Regions from separate parts of the Homo sapiens genome. Here region 2 is linked to region 1. The links are contacts of gene promoters, found by promoter capture Hi-C in blood cells and fetal thymus (Javierre and others, 2016). All regions are on one chromosome and are shown on one strand. Each heading gives the region's core, a stretch centred on a gene start or on the middle of the fragment in contact. The rest is flanking DNA. Distances are from core to core; before and after follow the strand shown. Region 1 holds the start of CIB3 (calcium and integrin binding family member 3). Region 2 overlaps CYP4F8 (cytochrome P450 family 4 subfamily F member 8).

What was found. Contacts are between HindIII fragments. The CHiCAGO score rates a contact against its expected background, and 5 or more counts as called.
Region 2: a fragment that was not itself captured here is called in contact with the fragment with the promoter of CIB3 in region 1 in 3 of 17 cell types (naive CD8 T cells, total CD8 T cells and total CD4 T cells); the score reaches 8.8 in naive CD8 T cells.

Annotation. Positions count from the first base shown.
Region 1 is chr19:16,169,398-16,175,957 of GRCh38, reverse strand. It overlaps CIB3 (calcium and integrin binding family member 3), which reads left to right and starts at 2,433. Exons shown (of 6, transcript NM_054113.4): 1 at 2,433-2,533; 2 at 2,762-2,796; 3 at 6,217-6,328. The coding sequence starts at 2,483. The HindIII fragment of the contact is 19,742 bases long and covers 1-4,303 here.
Region 2 is chr19:15,620,391-15,626,950 of GRCh38, reverse strand. CYP4F8 (cytochrome P450 family 4 subfamily F member 8) reads right to left here. Exons shown (of 13, transcript NM_007253.4): 6 at 4,611-4,732; 7 at 3,576-3,846; 8 at 3,186-3,252; 9 at 2,857-2,986. Among named protein-coding and RNA genes, the nearest start is that of CYP4F8, 8.5 kb to the right of the region's middle. The HindIII fragment of the contact is 786 bases long and covers 2,629-3,414 here.

The DNA.
Region 1 (6,560 bases), core at 1,184-3,683:
AAACCTCCCAAGTAGCTGGATACCACCAAACCTGGCTAATTTTTGTATTTTTGTAGAGATGGGGCTTCACCATGTTGCCTAGGCTGGTCTCCAACTCCTGGGCTAAAGTGGTCCTCTTGCCTTGGCCTCCCAAAGTGCTGGGATTACAGGCATGAGCCACCATACCAGGCCCTGAATCTTGTGGTAAGGTTAAGTTTAATTCTATTTAAAAAAAACCCAGCCAACCTATTTTCCAGAGTGTCTATACCATTTTGCATCAACACCAGCAATGTATGAGCATTCCAGTTGCTCCATACCCTCACCAACACTTGATATTGTTTATTTTTTGAAAGTTATTCTTGGATGGCTGGGCATGGTGGTTCATGCCTGTAATCCCAGCACTTTGGGAGGCTAAGGTGGGTAGATCACTTGAGGCCAGGTGTTCAAGACCAGCCTGGGCAACATAGACAGACCCTGTCTCCACAAAAAATACAAAAAAAAAAAAATTAGCCGGATGTGGCAGCATGTGCCTCTAGTGCCAGCTACCTGGGAGGCTGAGGAAGGAGGGTCGCTGCAGTGAGCCATGATTGTATCACTGCTCTCCAGCCTGGGTGACAGAGTGAGACCCTGTCTCAAAAAAAAAAAAAAGTCATCCTTGAGGCATCTTTCAAGCCTGATCAGGGTCACATTTTACAAGATGACTGCACAGATTTGGCAGAGGATGCTTGATGAGGCCGAGGCAGGAAAGCCTGCTGGGAAACATTGCAATAGTCCAGGCCAGGTAGAGAAAACACAGGTGAGACCCAAAGTGAGAAGGGCATGGAGGGCCAGGCTAAGAAATTTAGACTCTCAGATTCTCCACCCAAGAGGATTCTGGGCCTTAATAAAGTTGGTAGCTGCTACATTAGATCTGCCCTTTGGGCCGGGCGAGGTGGCTCACACATGTAATTCCAGCACTTTGGGAGGCCGAGGCGGGTGGATCACCTGAGGTCAGGAGTTCGAGACCAGCCTGGCCAACATAGTGAAACTCTGTCTCTACTAAAAATACAAAACTTAGCCAGGCGTGGTGGTGGGCGCCTGTAATAATCCCAGCTACTCGGGAGGCTGAGGCAGGAGAATGGCCTGAACTCGGGAGGTGGAGCTTGCAGTGAGCCGAGATCACGCCACTGCACCCTAGACTGGGTGACAGAGCGAGACTCCGTCTCAAAAAAAAAAAATACAAAAAAAATTAGCTTGGCATGGTGGACACCTGTGGTCCCAGCTACCTGGGATGCTGAGGCAGGAGAATCACTTGAACCTGGGAGGCAGAGATTGCAGTGAACCGAGATCACACCACTGCACTCCAGCCTGGGCAACAGAGTGAGACTGTCTCAAAAAAATAAAATGTAATAAAATAATAATGTCAATGCACACCCCAGAACTTCATCTAGCTTGTTCACCATTATGTTCCCAATGCAGTGATGCAATCATGGCTCACTGCAGCCTCAAACTCCTGGGCTCAAGCAATCCTCCCACCTCAGCCTCCTGAGTAGCTGGGACCACAGGCATGCACCACCACATCCAGCTAATTTTTGTATTTTTAGTAGAGATAGGGCCTTGCCATGCTGCCCAAGCTGATCTTGAACTCCTGGCCTCAAGTGAATCTCATGCTTTGTCCTCCTAAAGTGCTGGGATTACAGGTATGAGCCACCTCGCCCAGCCAAAACCTTTTTTTTTTTTTTGGAGATGGAGTCTTACTCTGTCACCCAGTCTGGAGTGCAATGGCGGGATCTCGGCTCACTGCAACCTCCACCTCCTGGGTTCAAGCAATTCTCCTGCCTCAGTCTCTGGAGTAGCTGGGATTACAGGCATGTGTCACAATGCCAAGCTAATTTTTGTATTTTTAGTAGAGATGGGGTTTTGCCGTGTTGGCCAGGCTGGTCTTGAACTCCTGACCTCAGGTGATCCGCCTGCCTGGCCCTCCCAAAGTGCTGGGATTACAGGTGTGAGCCACCTTGCCCAGTCAAAACCTTTTTTTTTTTTTTTTAAATCTCAGATCCTGAGAATGACCCTATGAGGTAGGTATAATGTAATTTTCATCTCATGAATGAGGTTCAGAGAAGTCAGGTGACTTGCCCAGGGCCACACAGCTAGTGGGCAGAGAGCTGGGATTTGAGCTGCAGTGTGCCCATAGCCCTTCTGTATACCCTGCCTGTCTCTTGAGTGTGCCCCATAACCCCAGCCTCACCTTGTGGTGGCAGATGTGGCCTCCCCACTGAGGTCTTCTCTGTGACATCCCACAGCCCTTATCCTTACCCATGGACACATTCAGGCTGTTGTCCAGAGAGCCTGGCTGTAATTTGAGTCTCATCAAGCAGGGGGTGATGGCGTAGGTGGGTGGGTGACAGCCAGGGCAGGGAGATTTGCCCAGACACTGGTACACAACAGCCTGGCAACCCGTGTGGCCCCGAGGAAGCTGGGAGCCTTTGGGGTGCATCCCCAAGTCTGGGCTGTGGTTCACACCATGGGCAACAAGCAGACAGTCTTCACACACGAGCAGCTGGAAGCGTATCAGGTAGAGGGGGGCAGGATGGGTCCTCAGTGGGTTTGACAACTTTGGTTCCGTGGTCTGGGAAATGGGAACAGAATGCCTTCATCTGGGTGTACCGTCCGCCTGGGTTCCTGGTTCTGCTCTGTGTGTGGCAGCATCAGGCCATCTGTGTGAGTGTGGGGTGGAGGGAGGAGGCCGTGGGAGGAGGCCCCAGAGGCAGGGTTCGGGTTAAGACAACACCTCTCTCCACAGGACTGCACATTTTTCACAAGGAAGGAGATCATGAGGTCAGTCCAGGGAGGAAGGGAGAGAAGATCTGGAAAAACAACTTTCTATTCATTGCTGGAGGATATTTGCAATTTGGTGTGTGTGTGTGTGTGTGTGTGTGTGTGTGTGTGTGTGTGTGTAAGTAGTCTTTCTTTCTTTCTTTCTCTTTTCTCTCTCTCTCTCCCTCCCTCCCTCCCTTCCTTCCTTCCTTCCTTCTTTTCTTTTTTTTTGAGACAGGGTCTGTCTCTATTGCCTGGGCTGGAGTGCAGTGGTGCAATCATGGCTCATTGCAGGCTCGATCTCCCAAGGTCAGGTGATCCTCCCACCTCAGCCTCTCGAGTAGCTAGGACCACTGGTGCGAGCCACCACATGTACCTCATTTTTGTATTTTTTTATAGAGATGGGGCTCTCACTATGTTGCCCAGGCTGGTCTTAAACCCTTGGGCTCAAGCGATCCCCCTGCCTCAGCCTCCCAAAGTGCTGGGATTACAGGTGTGAGCCACCATGCCCAACTGGTATTTCCAATTTGTTGGGACTCAAATGGGGAAGGGGGGCAGGTGTGGTCAGTGGACAGAGGCAGAGATGGAGAAGCTGACAAGTCACATCTTGTCATACTGTCCCAGTCTCTAGGCTGATGAGCTTGGGCTTTCTCCCAAGGGTGGCAGGGAGCTATGGAGCATGCATGAGCAGGGGAGAGACCATCAGCACGTTAGAAAGATTCTCCTGAGGCTGGGCGCGGTGGCTCATGCCTGTAATCCCAGCACTTTGGGAGGACAAGGTGGGTGGATCACCTGAGGTCAGGAGTTTAAGATCAGCCTGGCCAACATGGTGAAACCCCATCTCTGCTAATAATACAAAAATCAGCTGGGCGAGGTGGTGGGTGCCTGTAATCCCAGCTACTCAAGAGGCTGAGGCAGGAGAATTGCTTGAACCTGGGAGGTGGAGGTTGCAGTGAGCCGAGATCACGCCACTGTGCTCCAGCCTGGGTGACAGAGCTAGACTCTGCCTCAGAAAAACAAAATGAAAGATAAAGATTCTCCTGAGACTGGGACTTGAGGCTGGGAGCCCAGGTGCAAAGTCCAGAGCCCAGTCTGGGTTGTGGGCTTGGCATTAAGATGAGGGTGTGAGGAGGTGGCCCAAGGCTGCTGCAGGTCCCTGGCGTGACCCAGCACGATGGGCACAGATGAGTATCCCACATCATCACTCGGCCTGTGGGGCCATTGCCCAGGGGCCCCGACCCATGAACTTGGAGCTATGAAACCCAAGCTGGCCAGGGTTCAGCTGCAGTGTGATCGGGGCCAAGGCCCCAGTTGTGTAGTAACAGGACATCCATTATTGATGGCCACACCTTTTACTAGTGAGCCCCATTGTTTGGGTGAGGACAGCTTGCAGGGTCACCTCGGCCATCACGATCAAATTACTGATGGGGAAACTGAGGCTCAGACAGGGCGGGGCTGATCCCAGGCTGAAGGGTAAATGCACAGAGCCCCAAGGCCCCAAGGACAGACATTTTGTCTGTCCCAAGCTTCTTGCTTATCAGATAGAATAACCAAGGCACAGAGAGGGAGAGGAGAGGAACATGCTCAGAGCCACACAGAAACCTAAACCCAGGGTATTCCCTGATGGGACCCCGACAGGGAACTGAGTGGTCAGGATGAAAGTTCTAGGTCTCCCCACCCCACCTTCATTGAGTTCCTAGTCATCATATGACCTAGGGACTCATGTCTCTCTCAGAGACAGTCCCTAGCAGCTTGGGGACCTCAGACCCACCAAGGATGGTCTCTGCAAGGCTGCTGCTCAGCATGCCCTAATGAAGGTATGGTGTCACAGGTGAGGGCTTCTGAGTGGAGAACTGGCCTTATAATCTGGATAGTGTGTGTGGTATTCAGTTATTTGCAAAATATCTTTTGTCTGCCCTTTAGAAAAAATGTGACTATTAGCTGTTTGTCTCTGCTCTGCCCCATTGAGGAATCCCTCCTTTTTTTTCTTTCTTTCTTCTTTTCTTTCTTTCTTTTTTATTTTTTATTTATTTATTTTTTTTATTGAGACCGAGTCTCATTCTGTTGCCCAGGCTGGAGTGCACTGGCTTGATCTCGGTTCACTGCATGCTGCGCCTCCCGGGTTCACACCATTGTCCTGCCTCAGCCTCCGGAGTAGCTGGGACTACAGGCGCCCACCACCACGCCTGGCTAAATTTTTATATTTTTAGTGGAGACGGGGTTTCACCATGTTAGCCAGGATGGTCTTGATCTCCTGTCCTCGTGATCCACCTGCCTCGGCCTCTCAAAGTGCTGGAATTACAGGCGTGAGCCACCGCGCCCGGCCTCTTTCTTTCTTTTTTCTTTTCTTTTTTTTTTTTGAGACAGAGTCTCGTTCTTGTTGCCCAGGCTGGAGTGCAGTGACACGATCTCAGCTCACTGCAACCTCCAGCTCCCAGGTTCAAGTGATTCTCCTGCCTCGGCCTCCCGAGTAGTTGGGATTACAGGTGCCCGTCACCACGCCCAGCTAATTTTTTGTATTTTCAGTAGAGATGGGGTTTCACCATGTTGGCCAGGCTAGTCTCGAACTCCTGACCTCTGGTGATCCACCCGCCTCGGCCTCCCAAAGTACTGGGATTACAGGCATGAGCCGCTGCATCCGGCCTCTTCCTCCCATTATAAGGAGAGGAAGGGAAGGTATGAAAGTGAAGGTATCTTTGGAGGCAGGGTCTTGCTGATAACATGACAATATCCAGAGATGTGTGGATTATATAGGATTCTCTGAATGCTTGCTGTGATCTGGCCATAAGCACCCTCCCTTCTCCCAACTCCATCTGCTTTAGAAGCTCCTACTCATGCTTCAAAGCCCAGAACCAATGTCCCCTCTTCCAGGAACCCCCTTCTCCTCGCTAGCTTGCTTCCCCCAGTCCAGTCTCCCTTTGTCCTGTGGCCCTCTCTGCACCTTGACCCTGCCCCCAGGGAGGTTAGGGGTGCCTGTGTCAGGCTCTGTATGCTTGAGGTCCAGGCCCAGGGCTGAGTGTTCTTGGGGACCCAGTATACCTCAGTGTGCAGTGAGCAGCTGTGAATGTGAAAGAGAAGGGACTTGGCCAGGTGCGGTGGCTCACGCCTGTAATCCCAACACTTTGGGAGGCTAAGTCAGGTGGATCATCTGAGGTCAGGAGTTTGAGACCAGCCTGACCAACATGAAACCCCGTCGCTACTAAAAATACAAAAGAATTAGCCGGGCGTGGCAGGGTGTGCCTGTAATCCCAGCTACTTGGGAGGCTGAGGCAGGAGAATTGCTTGAACCCGGGAGGCAGAGGTTACAGTGAGCCGAGATTGTGCCACTGCACTCCAGCCTGGGTGACAGACCGAGACTCTGTCTCAAAAAACAAAGAAGGGACAAGCGTCTTGCCTGCTCCCTGCTCCCAGTCTTTCCCAGCTTTTTCCTCCCCACATCAGGCTCTTCTATCGCTACCAGGACCTGGCCCCACAGCTCGTGCCCCTCGACTATACCACCTGCCCCGATGTGAAGGTGCCCTACGAGCTCATTGGCAGCATGCCCGAGCTGAAGGTATGCCCAGGCCATGGGACAAACAGGGTAAAAAATAGTAGAGATGTCTCTCGTTGCATTCCTCTGAGGTCAGTGCTGCAGTTATCCCCATTTTAAAGATAAGAAAACTGAGACTCAGAGAGGTTAAGACACTTGTTCATGGTCACACAGCTACAATGTGACAGAGACAGGGTTAAAACCCAGAGTTGGCTGGTGTGGTGGCTCAAGCCTGTAATCCCAGCACTTTGGGAGG
Region 2 (6,560 bases), core at 1,772-4,271, 550 kb after region 1:
TGTGGTGGAAGTTGTTCAGACCACTGGAAATGTGGGAACAGAGAGAAACAGGTTCTTGTCTACTGCATATACAAGGTGGAGTCTTTTCCTTTATGAGAAAGGTAAAATTATAATGTTAAAAGATGATAACATAGGAGAAATTTTTGTGACTTAAGAGTAGGAATTCTTAAAACCCCAAAAGCTTAAACAAGATAAAATATAAAGGATAAATACGCATGCAAATTAAGGATTTCTGTGCAGTAAAAGATACAGTGGACCCAATTAACATTCCAATGAGAGATAAGAGATTCAGAGAAGATGCCTAAGATAGATAGATAGATAGATAGATAGATAGATAGATAGATATCCAGAACAATATCTGAATATGTTAGGAATTCCTGCAAATCTACAAGAGAACGAACAGGTAACCCAAGTGAAAAGTAGACAAAGGATTTGATCTAAGAATTCATGGATGCTCAAACATGAGAAATGTAAGAGGAGATGCGCAAAGTCACTAGCTGTCATAGAAATGGAAGCTAGCTGACAACGAGGTACCACTTCACATCTATTCGAGGCTAGAATGGCCAAAGGTAGGTGTTGCCAAGGGTTGGCTGAGGTGTGGGTAGAGGGGTCACATGCACTGACAGTGGGGTGCACAGAAGCTGCCAATATGGAAGGCAACCTCCAGGACATGGCCAAGGAAAGATGTGTGTTTTACAGCCCAGCAAGCTGGTTCCCAACTGTAGATCCCAGAGAAATTATCAGACATGCAGATAAAGAGATATGCACAAAGATGGTCATTGCACTGGAGAGATAGAAGCAGTCCAGGTATCCACTACAGAACTGAAGAGAAAAGGACTAGATCATAGCTAAAAGCAAGAGAATAAATGTACTTAGAACCACGGTGCTGCAAATCATAGTGCTACATTTATATAGCACAAATCATAGCATGCAACCACGGTGCTGCAAACGTAGCACAAATCATAGTGCTATATTTCTGAAAAGGTAAGAACCAGCACAACATCTGTGAAATAAAAACATATATAGAATTTTAAAATGTATCCACCCCAACAACAAGTTTTACAGATAAAAGTATCCACCATTTTGTAATCATACTGATGGAGAGCTGGAAGGAGAGATTTGAGATAAATGGGAAGAAATACGTATTGTATAGAAAAATGACGAGAATTTGCCATGAATTGAAGAGCATCGTTAACTCAAACATTAGCACCTAAGGTCCAAAAAATTTATTAATTAACATTTTCAAAAGTATTTGTCAAACTGGCTAACCTGATCACAGAGTTCAAATGGAAAAAAATAGGAACTCGAGGGAAAAAAAACTGTAAACACAAAGTAATGAGACAGAACAAACTCTACCAAATATTAAAGTGTTTTTAAAAGTAGACTTCATGCTGCTCATGTAGGACTACATAATAAATGGAACAAAATGAAGGCAACAAATAAAACCATATATATACATACATGCCTAAGATAGGCATATATATATATGGTTTTATTTGTTGCCTTAAAATACATATATATATAGTGTATACACTATATATAGTATGTGTGTGTGTATATATATATACACAAACACTATATATATATACACTATATATATACACTATATATATATATATACACACACATAGTTTCTTGTGAATTTGTTGTTATTTAGAATCATGACACAAGGACAAAATATTCATTAAACTTGGTTGGGACAATTAGACATTTGGAGAAAAAATAGATTCCAACATAGATTTCAAAGGGAAAAATTTCTAAATGTGAAAAATATTGATAAAATGTTAAACTTTTAAAAATATATAAGCCTATTAAAATAAGTCAAACAAGAGTTTTGCATTTTACTATTAGAGTATAAAATGGTTTTTAAATATTTTTTTAAGAAACACAAACAGGAATTATAAAAGAAAAAATTAATAAATTTGGTGACAAATAAATGAACCAAAAATAAAAATAAAGTCCAAGACAATGCGAGGCAACATTTTGCATAACAGAAAAAAGAAATAATTTTCTTAATATGTAAAGAGTTTTTATAAGTAAATAAGAAAACTAGTACGACCCAAAGTAGAAAAAACAAATTACGCAAAAACTGACTTCACAGAAAAATAGATATGGATGGCTCATCGGCAGGTGAAAACAGTGCTCAACTTTACCCACATTTAAAGTTATGTTCATTAAAATAACAAAATATTATATTGCATCTATCAGATTGGCAAATGTTTTAGTTTCATAATAGGCACTTCTGGGGAGGTTATGAGGAAATTTGGTATTCTCAAAATCTGTGTATAGCAGTAGATTTCCCAAGAGCTATTGAATTGTAAAACTCAAATGGTCTTTGGCTCAGCAGTTGCACTTCTAGGAATCTGCTCTACAAAGATGACATGTCAGCAATGATCATCGTACACCGATATTCAACACATCATGTCTTTTATACCAAAAGGCTGGAAAGTATAAAAACACGCGTTGATAAGAGAATGTTTTGATAAATCATAATATTAGATTGGTCCAAAAGTCATTGCGGTATTTGCCGTTAATTCTCCAAGCAGCCCTGTGGGACAGCAATTCCCCACACCCCCAATTTACAAAGGAGAAAAGTTGTTCAGAAAAGGGAATTGATTTTACTAAGCTTGCATAGCAAGTTAGTGGGGAAATAAATATGGACTCCCAGACCATTCTGTCCCCAAAGCATGCAATGTTACCCTTGCTAGCCTGTTTCTGGGCTCTACTCCTATTCCCACTAGGCAACAATGGCAGAATCATCAAAAAGATCCTCCCCTTTTCCCCCACCTGGGGAGAAGAACCAACGAGAAGGACTCAGAAAGGCAGAAAGGCAGAGCCACCAGCACCTGCACTCACCATTCAATCTCTTTAGGCTCACGGTCCTTCAGAAGCTCTTGCACCTCCTGCCGGCAGCGTTCTTGGTATTCTGGGTGCCTCGCGAGGTTGTACAAGACCCAGGAGAGGCCACTGGCCGTGGTGTCATGGCCTGAGGGTCAGCCAGGCAGGCTTGAGTCTCTGGGCTGCTTCAGCACCCAGAGGGTGGACAGCGCCCATACATTGAGGCTCTCAGGAAGGTTGAGGGGAGGGGGAGGTTGGGCAGAATGAAGTGATTCAGGGCCGGCCCTCCACTTCCCTGGAGTGGAGAGACCCCTGTCCCCACTGTAGCCCCAGACTGGGACACTCACCTCCAAACATGAAAGTGTCAGCTTCTGCTCTTATGTCCTCATCTGACAACTCTTTACCATTTTTATCCTGGAGACAAGAACCCCAATCACACTAGTTCTGGGGTCACTGGAGTCTAAACTGAAACAGTCTCTGAAGACCCATTATCCCAGAAGGATCCCTCCCTTGTCACCTCCAGATCTACCCCCACATGCTTCCTTCCGACCTCCTGTTTGTTCTTCCCAGGAAGCTTTCTATGCAATCACCTCTAAAATTTATCTGACTTGTCCCTCCCTTCTTCGAGCACCTTCCATGGCTCCTTAGTGCCCTCTGTATCAAGTCCGGTCCTTCAATCTGACATTTGACCTGAAGCTCCATTTTACCTCTTGAATTCAGATCCCAGAGAGGCCCACCTCGCTCAGCAGGAGCACATCAATAAAGTCCAAAGTCTTGGACTTGGCCTTGGCTTGGAGGAAGTCATCAACACCCTGGCTAGTGAGGGTGCGGCGCCGCTCCTGGATGACGGCATCTGTGAAGTCGTGCACCAGTCTGCAGGCCCTGTGGAAGCGCCGTCCACAGGGAGTGAGGAAGTACAGGAAGTCCTTGTACCGGAAGAACTGGTTATTCCGTTTCACTACAAGGGCACTGAGCTCCATGATCGCAGTAATATATTCACTGGGCTTCCTGCAGGGCCAGTCCAGAGAGAGGAAGCAGCTCCTTACCCACATGAAAGCCTGGGAGCACCTTCCAGCCAGAATCCCAGGACCACATTCCATGCAGAAAGGGGTGTCCTGCAAGCGCACTTCACTCTCTGCCTCCCACTCTCTGTGAGCTGCCTCCTGCCCCAGGTCCCCAGGGCACAGCTTGGCCATCATGGGCATCTCCTCTCTCTGTCTTATAAAACATCTGCTCCTGCCTATTATTACTCAGTTTCTCCCAAATCTGCCCCATTTTCTCCACCAAACTCAGACCTCCTCTCCCTGGCATCCTTGCATGCTGTGTCTACATGACAGTCAATCTTCCATAGAGTCCCATAGAGTCCAGTGTCCAAGCTCAGTACTGACCATGTCTCTCATCTGCTCAAACACCTCCATGGCTCCTTAGGAACCTTGGATAAAATGCATCTCCCTTTGTCTGACTTTTCAAGATCCTTAAGATCTAGTTAACTGCCAACCCCTCCACCTTCATTTCCAAGTGTCTCCCAACTGCCTGTTGCACATGCTCTGTTCATCTTAGCCTCCTTGCCTTGACCCAAACAGTTCCACTTGTTTGGAGGAAACTTCTCTTTCTCTCGCTCTCTCTCTCTCTCCTTCTCTCCTTCTTTGTCCTTCAATGCCTAGTTCTCATCATCTCTCCAGGAAGGCTCTTCTTGTCTCCCTGGGCTTTGCTCTCCCCACACCCACACCCCCACTCCATCCCATGTTCCCAGGCCCTGGGCAAGAACTCACTCCTGACAATTGCTGTCAAAGCTGAAGATGCATTTCTGCAGACTGTCCAGGGTCATAAGGCTGATGTGCTCAAACACATCCAGACAGGTGCTGCCCTCCATGGCCAGGCGTTGCCACTTGGCCTGGCCAGAGAAGGGAGCAGGGCTGGGGCCAGGCCTTGGCTCCTCTGAGTCCCCCTGCAACCCCAACCACCAGGATGGACTCCCCCAGAGGCATGCTCCTGGTTTTCTGTCCCAGACCCCCATCCTCAGGGAGGACTACGCTTGGGTGAGAGTGGAAGCTGTTACTATTAGGAGATGAAGATCCCATGGCTGGGTTCAAGCCCCAGCTGTGATTCCTAAGCTGTGTGTACCCTTGGTCAACTCACAGCCCTCCTCTAGGTCTCACCTGTCAAATCCTCAATAGCAATCAAGATGACCTGCTTTGATGCCAGGGAGCCAGGCTAGAACCCCTTTTCCCCCACTCTTAGACTCACTGACAAGCTGGGTGAACTTGGGAAATCTCTCTAACCTCTCTGGCCCTCAGTTTCACCATTTGTCATGGCATGGGGGAGAGGGTGGAAAATATCCTCTACTTCACAAGGCGGTGTAAATTAAATGAGACCACATACACCATGGAATAGGCATATTACATCATTTCTGTCATATGATGAGTTCTCAATAAATATTATCTTGATTCATCTTCATTGTTATAAATTGATTACAAAAAGTCCCTGTGATCCCCCTGAACATTTTTTTCTGAGCATGCCAAGAATGCAAAACTCTGAAGTTTTGTTGTTGTTGTTGTTTGTTTGTTTTGTTTGTTTGCTAGTTTTTGAGATGGAGTCTCGTTCTGTTGCCCAGGCTGGAGTGCAGTGGCACAGTCTTGGCTCACTGCAACCTCTGCCTGCTGGGTTCAAGCAATTCTCCTGTCTCAGCCTCCTGAGTAGCTGGGGTTACAGGCACGCACCACCACGCCCTGCTAATTTTTGTATTTTTAGTAGAGACAGGGTTTTGCCATGTTGGCCAGGCTGGTCTCGAACTCCTGACCTCAAGTGATACCAATGTGCTGGGATTACAAGCATGAGCCACCACACCCGGTCAACCCTGAGGTTCTTAATCTGGGCTATTTCTCAGCATTGTGTTTGCAGAGAACAGCCTTGGGGTATAAGGTAATGGCTCCTCTGGGACACACGTTAGGCTTATTCTGCTTGCTCTAAAAGCTGATTCTCTAAGCCTAATGCTCCTCCCCATCATGCAAATATACTACATGGCAGGCATCTATAGAAGCCCACCTTATCACCCCAGGGAATTTGGGTGGCTTAGAGAAAGGATCCAAACCAACAAGATGCACATGCCACTTGCTGAGACATGAGTAATAAACTTTTGTCTTTGACCCAGAAGTCTCGTGTCTTCTGGCAGAATCCATGCAAAAGTAACAAGCTAATTTATTAGCTCACAGGAGAAAAAAAAATCCTAGTCGTTTCACAAAACGCTTGGCTCCATTTCTTCTCTTCTCCCTGCATCCACATCTTTTGCAATGTGATTTTTTAGCAACTTCCATTAAGAGATGGAGCCTATTTTGCCCCACATTGATTCATGGTGGACGTTTTACTTTTTTTGGCCAATAGAATGTGGTGAAAATGATAAGGCCATAACTAGTGAGAAGTTGACTGGGTGCAGCAGCCCATGCCTGTAATTCCAGCATTTTGTGAGGCCGAGGAGGGCAGATCACTTGACGTCAGGAGTTCAAGACCAGCCTGCCCAACATGGTGAAACCCTGTCTCTACTGAAGATACAAAAAATTAGTTGGGCATGGTGGTGGGCGCCTGTAATTCCATCTACCCACGAGGCTAAGACAGGAGAATTGCTTGAGGCGGGGGTTGCAGAGAGCCAAGATCGCACCACTGCACTCCAGCCTGGGAGACAAAGCGAGACTTCATCTCAAAAATAAAATAAATAATAATAACTA